Linked DNA regions of Homo sapiens: region 1 is linked to region 2. The links are contacts of gene promoters, found by promoter capture Hi-C in blood cells and fetal thymus (Javierre and others, 2016). All regions are on one chromosome and are shown on one strand. Each heading gives the region's core, a stretch centred on a gene start or on the middle of the fragment in contact. The rest is flanking DNA. Distances are from core to core; before and after follow the strand shown. Region 1 overlaps RTRAF (RNA transcription, translation and transport factor). Region 2 holds the start of PTGDR (prostaglandin D2 receptor).

Region 1 (3,657 bases), core at 378-2,877, 260 kb before region 2:
AGACTCCAGAGACATGGCCAAAGTTTCATTGCCTACAAGATGGCAGCTCTCCCCAGTTTTCAGGTCAAGCACCAAGAAGGAATAAGGGGCCGGGCGCAGTGGCTCATACCTATAATCCCAGCACTTTGGGAGGCCAAGGCAGGTGGATCACCCAGGGTCAGGAGTTGGAGACCAAAATGGCGAAACCCTGTCTCGACTAAAAATACAAAAATTAGCTGGGCATGGTGGCACATGCCTGTAGTCCCAGCTACTTGGGAGGCTGAGGCAGGAGAATTGCTTGAACCCGGGAGATGGAGGTTGTAGTCAGCCGAGACTGTGCCACTGCACCCCAGCCTCGGCAACAAAGCAAGACCTTGTCTCAAAAAAAAGAAAAAAAAAAGAAAAAAGGACCTTCCAAATGTCCAAATGTCAGAAAGGCAAGCCTATGCAAAGAGTTTTTAAGAGGGCTATTAATTCCTGTTAAGTCAACTGGAATAGAGAAGGATACAGGTACTTTTCCTGTGTGTAGAACCCAAAGTTTGAAACCACCTTTGAGGCACTGCACTAAGTATTTCATAGTCAAAAAGCACTTACCTGAAAATTAAAGCTGAAGGTTTTCTTTACTGATTTGAAGGGCATCTGGGAATTTCATTTCGTAGAAACTCCACTTAAACATGGCAAGAGTTTCTCAAGATATAAAAATTCTCCCTGATTGTAACAAGTACTGAGACAGTGAACAAATCCTGTATGTCACATTTGATGACCTTAGCAATTATACAGACAGGGAAAATGTTTATCTTGATTTCTGCTACAGCAACACTGAAGCCAGAGGTGTCTGAGCTTTGGCTAATGTCACTTGATGTAGGTCAGCCCTACTGTGAGCGTCAACCCTGGTTTCTAAATGTGCTGCTGGAGGAATCCCACTTCACTTCCAGTTTAAGTGTCAGCTGAGGCCTCGCCTGATCATTTGATTCAGAGTAGCCCTAGTTCTCACAACACTATCTGAATTTTCTACATATCACATCACAGACTAATATTGTTTATACCAGTCTTGTTTCCTCCTAATAAAATATAAGTGCCATGAAAGAACAGACCTTGTCTTTTCCTAGAACAGGTCCTGACACCTCTTAGATCCTCAGTAAATCTTTGTTACATGAATGCATTTGAGCTTTCACTCTCTTGTTCTGACCTTCCCCACATTGTATTTAAAACCCAAGGGCTTCACATCAGGATCTACAGGTAAGAGAAGAATTAGGGAAGCCCAGCTGACCCTCGGATTGGATCCACAGCGATGGCACGGGGATTCACCAGATCTGTGTAGAAGAGGACCTTGCGCTCAGAGCCATCCAGCAGGGCGCTCTCTATCTTATCCAGGACACTGTCCGTCCAGTACATTGTTCTGCGGATGTGGTCTATGGCAAGTCCTTCAGGGCTTATCAGACCTGGAAATAAAGCAAAGTCAGGACTGGAGTGTTTGCAGGATATGGAGGGCAAACCTGAAGCCCTCCAACGGTCGGGTGGGCAGGGGGGTCAGCAGGGGAAAGCAAAGCCCAAGTGTCTCCAAGTCCCCAAGAACCAGGTTAATAGAGAAACAAGTACTTTTGTTACATATTCCACTACCTCTAGCTTCTAGACCAGCAGACCTACCAGTTTGATGACAACCGGCATCCACAGTGCCAGAGCCAGGCTGAATAAACGAAGGCGTCACCCTGAATTCTTACCATGAATTCTTTTAAGAAGTGCGCACAGTAGGAATCACCTATTTCATTCCGTATGTATGAAGGTGTTTGCTTACAGAGGGGGCTAGTCTTATACAGCTCAATAAAATGACTTGCCTAGAACTTAACCTCCCCTAATGGAGAAAAATCGAGGGGAGACTTCGGCGTAAAGTAGACAAGTGACTTTGTAGAATCAAATGAAATGCAGACTGCTGAGTGAAGCTGCTGACCTGAATTCACGATCGTCTCAGGCTCTGCTCCCAGTTCCAGACCAGCACGGCTGATTGTCCGTCCAGCAACATCTGTCCAGTACACCATCCTCTCCCGGCAGTCGTAATCAATTCCCACGATTATGGAGCCCTTTGTGCATCAAATCATAGAATTAGAAGAATTAGGTTACATTTCCCCTTTGTTCACACTCAGCTGCCTTGCTCATGCACAGCTGCAGTGAGCAACACTGCACTGTGATCCTGCAGGCAACAGAGCAGAGTAGCTGGACATGTGGGCACTCGGGTGAAATCTAGGCTCAGCCACTTAGTAGCCATGTGGCTTTGGGCATTTAACCTCTATGCGTTTGTCTCATTTGCAAAATGAGGCCAATAGTGTACCTGCCTCATATGGTTGCTATAAAAATTAATACTATAAGTGCTTGTAAAGTGTCCTAATCAGTAATTGGCATACAGTAAGCCCTTCAATAGGTGCTATTATGACTGATGATTTAAAAAAAAAAAAAAATCAGCCCCTTCAGTAATTAGAGGACATGGCCTTAAGCAAAATAAGTTTTTAATATTTTACTGGGTAAAAACTGAATCTTTTCCCAATGTCATCAGCACTTTTCCCAGAGCCTTAATAAAATTTGCCACTATATGCCAACAAAATCTACTCTCCCCTCCTCTGTGAATGAGATCTTTCCTCTACCTGAAGTACAATCACCTATACTCCTGCCCCTGACTCTTAGGAGGCAAGATGTTGGTTATATCCTGTACTAAAGAAAGTGTAGTCAGGCACAGTGACTCACGCCTGTAATCCCTGTCCGTTGGGAGGCCAAAGCAGGAGGATTGCTTGAGCCCAGGAGTTCGAGACTGAGCAACATAGTGAGACCCCGTCTAAAAAACAAAAAATAAATGAACTGGGCATGGTGGCACGCACCTGTAGTCCCAGCTACTCAGGAGACCGAGTTGGGAGGATCGCTTGAGCCCAGGAAGTCAAGGCTGCACCAAGCCGAGATGGTGCCACTGCACTGCAGCCTGGGCAACACAGAGCTACACCCTGTCTCAAAAGAAGGAAAAAATCTAATTTATTGGGTTAAGGAACTAGGGAGTAGTGGTTATCCAACCTCTGGCTAGTGAGGTCTCTCCTCCTCATTGCTAAATAAATGACAAGTCTTTTAAAAAAATAATAAAAATAAAAAAAATGCTGAGTCTGATATTTTTCCTCAACTCCATGCAGAACTTGCTTCATTCAGTTTCCAATCCAGGCTCCTGCTCTGAGAAGCCCAGCAGATGTGCAAAGCCAACATTCAGGGGTTAGCTGGCTGTCCCTGAGGTCATACAAGTTCCTGCCTTGCCTAACAGCCTCCTGGGGCTTGGCTTCACTTACGCCCCCTGGGAGCGTAGTCAGCCAAGAAAGATTGTACAAAACGGGATTTGGCTTCAGTGGAAAAACAGGCAGCTTATATGGGGGGCGGGCCTAAGGTCAACTACACTTTTATTTGAAAATTGAAAAGTCGTTTGTCCCAGGCAAGAGTACACATTCAAATGAGCTTCCATTAACCCGGGAATCATGGGATTCATAAACCCATGTCATAACCTCAGGTTAGAGAAAAAGTCCCAGTTTAAGTAAATTTCCTTAAAATGTGCAAATAACCCACGTCCCATTTCTTTCAGTTCCACTACCACTACCATCACCACCCTGTCCTGGTCAGGGGCATGTTCAGAAAGGCAATCAAGCTCTATGACTT
Region 2 (3,726 bases), core at 324-2,823:
TCAACCTCACAACAACCCCACAAGTTCAGCATAAGTCTCATATTCCATTAGGTTGAACAACTAACCCAGGGTCACACAGCCAGTGGTGGAGTTCAGAACTATCTAATTCCAAGCTTAGATTCTTCTTTTCCACCCTGTGGCCTGAATTACTGGCCAGACTTTCAGTCTGGAGGCAGCCTCTCTGTCTACCCTTCAGGCTTTCACATCTAAATCCCAAGGGTCTTGCTCTTTCCCTGAGTCTGTCCATCAGAACTGGCATGAGGCCTAAAAATGAGCCGTTTCAAGCCCAGGCATCATCTACTCACTTACATAACAAAACCTTAGTCATCCCACTGAGATTCCACACTCAAAGCCAATTTCTCTCACAGGGCATCGAATGCTAGTTAAAGATATAAAATCACGCTTATCACAATTAACTCCCTTGCCTTTATGATGCAGCCAAGTCAAAGCCCAAACAGGAATAAATTTTTTCTAGTAGCCACAAATCAGAGGAGTGAGAAAGCTCTATGCCAAATCTACCATTTTCTGATTTCAAAATCCATGCTAAAAACTGCAGTTAAACATCAGCTACCAAAACACCCTTCTATCAAATAAGAATCATGGTGATTGCATGAATTGAGCACTTTCTATGTACTTGCTCTTTACGTGTTATTTCTATGCCTCAGAAGAGCCAAGCAGGCCAGATAGATGTTACTGCTTGAGAGGCTAAGCAAGTCCCATAAGGTCACACACACAGTGAGGAGCAGAACCTGGACTCAAACCCAGGCCTATCTGATGACAGCAACAGTGCTGCTAACCATGCCCTTCCCCCCAGCTCTCTACAGTCAATGTGATTCATGGCACCCAGGACCAACACCGGCTCTTGGCTTTCCCACAAACCACTTCCCTGAAATCTGGACAACTTCTTGGGAGGAGGAGTCATGGGAACAGGACAGATGAACTCCAAAATAGAAGATCGGGTGAGAGGTCCGGCTCTGCTACTTCTGTAGCTCTGTCACCACGGGCAGATCACTTAACTTTCCAAGGCCTCAGTTTCCTCGCCTATGCAATGGAGATGACCGTGAATGCCCCAAATTGCGCTGATCTAGTAGAGAAGAGGAGCTAAGGCTCAGGGGCTTTCCAGACGTGAGTTATCTTTACCTTTCCTTGACTAGCTAATTCAAGACAACTAGGTAGAAGCCCTTTCTCAGCCTCCCCTCTTCGCTCATCTTTCGAGTTCTTGGCCACCCCAGTTCAAACACCAGCACCATTGCCCTCCTCTCAGGTGGCTGCTGCTTAATTTCCCCTCCACTTTAGTAGTTCTTCTCTTGCCTCGCTAGAAGGACTGGTGTTGGGTGCTTGGAATTCTGGCTATTTTCCTCCTGCCGTTCCGACTCGGCACCAGAGTCTGTCTCTACTGAGAACGCAGCGCGTCAGGGCCGAGCTCTTCACTGGCCTGCTCCGCGCTCTTCAATGCCAGCGCCAGGCGCTCACCCTGCAGAGCGTCCCGCCTCTCAAAGAGGGGTGTGACCCGCGAGTTTAGATAGGAGGTTCCTGCCGTGGGGAACACCCCGCCGCCCTCGGAGCTTTTTCTGTGGCGCAGCTTCTCCGCCCGAGCCGCGCGCGGAGCTGCCGGGGGCTCCTTAGCACCCGGGCGCCGGGGCCCTCGCCCTTCCGCAGCCTTCACTCCAGCCCTCTGCTCCCGCACGCCATGAAGTCGCCGTTCTACCGCTGCCAGAACACCACCTCTGTGGAAAAAGGCAACTCGGCGGTGATGGGCGGGGTGCTCTTCAGCACCGGCCTCCTGGGCAACCTGCTGGCCCTGGGGCTGCTGGCGCGCTCGGGGCTGGGGTGGTGCTCGCGGCGTCCACTGCGCCCGCTGCCCTCGGTCTTCTACATGCTGGTGTGTGGCCTGACGGTCACCGACTTGCTGGGCAAGTGCCTCCTAAGCCCGGTGGTGCTGGCTGCCTACGCTCAGAACCGGAGTCTGCGGGTGCTTGCGCCCGCATTGGACAACTCGTTGTGCCAAGCCTTCGCCTTCTTCATGTCCTTCTTTGGGCTCTCCTCGACACTGCAACTCCTGGCCATGGCACTGGAGTGCTGGCTCTCCCTAGGGCACCCTTTCTTCTACCGACGGCACATCACCCTGCGCCTGGGCGCACTGGTGGCCCCGGTGGTGAGCGCCTTCTCCCTGGCTTTCTGCGCGCTACCTTTCATGGGCTTCGGGAAGTTCGTGCAGTACTGCCCCGGCACCTGGTGCTTTATCCAGATGGTCCACGAGGAGGGCTCGCTGTCGGTGCTGGGGTACTCTGTGCTCTACTCCAGCCTCATGGCGCTGCTGGTCCTCGCCACCGTGCTGTGCAACCTCGGCGCCATGCGCAACCTCTATGCGATGCACCGGCGGCTGCAGCGGCACCCGCGCTCCTGCACCAGGGACTGTGCCGAGCCGCGCGCGGACGGGAGGGAAGCGTCCCCTCAGCCCCTGGAGGAGCTGGATCACCTCCTGCTGCTGGCGCTGATGACCGTGCTCTTCACTATGTGTTCTCTGCCCGTAATTGTGAGTCCCCGGGCCCCGAGGCAGCAGGGCACTGAGACTGTCCGGCCGCGGATGCGGGGCGGGAAGGGTGGAGCGGATCGGGATGGACGCGGCGCCAGGCGAGCTGCGCCCTGGGCCAGGAAGGTTTGCTGCTGAGTTCCCCAAATTGGATTCCTTCCACAGCCCCGAGATATAACTCAGTTTGCGGAGCGAAATGAGGGAAAGTTAGAGAAAGGAAGGGAAAGGCTGAGCCCGGCGGTGTCTCCCTAGCCCAGCAAAACCCTCTCCATGTGGCAGAACTCCCTCCTCTCTGCTTCCTTCTGGGGAGATCTCGAGGTCATTTTTGCGCCTTAGGAGGAGCAGAACTTAGTTTCTCCTTGGCAACAGGAGTCTTCTACTTCCCGACGGCTGGGTGATGTTTTATTTTGTTAGACCTGCTCATGACTTCAGTGGTATCAGAAATGGGCGAATGGCGTCTGGGACGATCTTCTCCCCGGTGTTGGCATAGAAAGGGAAAAAGAGGTTTAAGCCAGCCAGAGTGATTTGCAGATGCATAGTTTTAATTTTGAAAAACGCGTGCGTAAACTTTGAGACGCCACGGCTGCTGTTTCTGGTGCTGCATCCGCCAGGGATTGTGGCGATGGAGGCCGAGGCTCTTTGTATGTTTTAGCTGCTGGTGTCGTTTTGACAACCTGACTTGACGGGTTTTGAGTGTATCTTGGCAAGTGAGGTGACATGAAAGCCATTATCTCCGGTTTCAATTTGGTAATGAGGATAGCGATGGAAATGAAATTATCTCCTCATTTTGAAGGCATTTGTTCCTGGAGTCCCCGCCAAGACACCTGGGAGTAGGTGAGGCTTGAGGAAACATTTTCAGTGCTGCTCCTCTCCTTTCTCCCAAGGTACCTGTTCAACAAAAACAATACTTACAGAAATTCCATTGCCAATCCCACGTTCTCGAAATCCTGAGACTTCTGTGAATAGGAAAGTTGTTAAATTTCTTCTCAGAATGTAGCCATTTTGGATATTACTTTCAATGGTGAATGAAAGGGAAATACAAAGCGATTTTCCTTTAAATGAAGGCCTTACTGCTTGCGGAAAAAGAAGTCTGGGGCATCAGCATGCAGGGGTGGGAACAGTATGCCCCCAAAATAAATAAACAAATACATAAATCTATATCTATCTAAATGTAGATATAGGCGCAGATGACA

The links. The method cuts DNA at HindIII sites, captures the fragments that hold promoters and counts their contacts. A CHiCAGO score of 5 or more calls a contact.
Region 1: a fragment that was not itself captured here is called in contact with the fragment with the promoter of PTGDR in region 2 in 2 of 17 cell types (megakaryocytes and naive CD8 T cells); the score reaches 6.6 in megakaryocytes.

Annotation. Positions count from the first base shown.
Region 1 is chr14:52,009,627-52,013,283 of GRCh38, forward strand. It overlaps RTRAF (RNA transcription, translation and transport factor), which reads left to right. Exons shown (of 8, transcript NM_016039.3): 8 at 1-1,068. NID2 (nidogen 2) reads right to left here. Exons shown (of 22, transcript NM_007361.4): 17 at 1,928-2,057; 18 at 1,250-1,421. Among named protein-coding and RNA genes, the nearest start is that of RTRAF, 22 kb to the left of the region's middle. The HindIII fragment of the contact is 4,390 bases long and covers 1-3,657 here.
Region 2 is chr14:52,266,125-52,269,850 of GRCh38, forward strand. PTGDR (prostaglandin D2 receptor) reads left to right here and starts at 1,574. Exons shown (of 2, transcript NM_000953.3): 1 at 1,574-2,536. The coding sequence starts at 1,691. The HindIII fragment of the contact is 7,987 bases long and covers 112-3,726 here.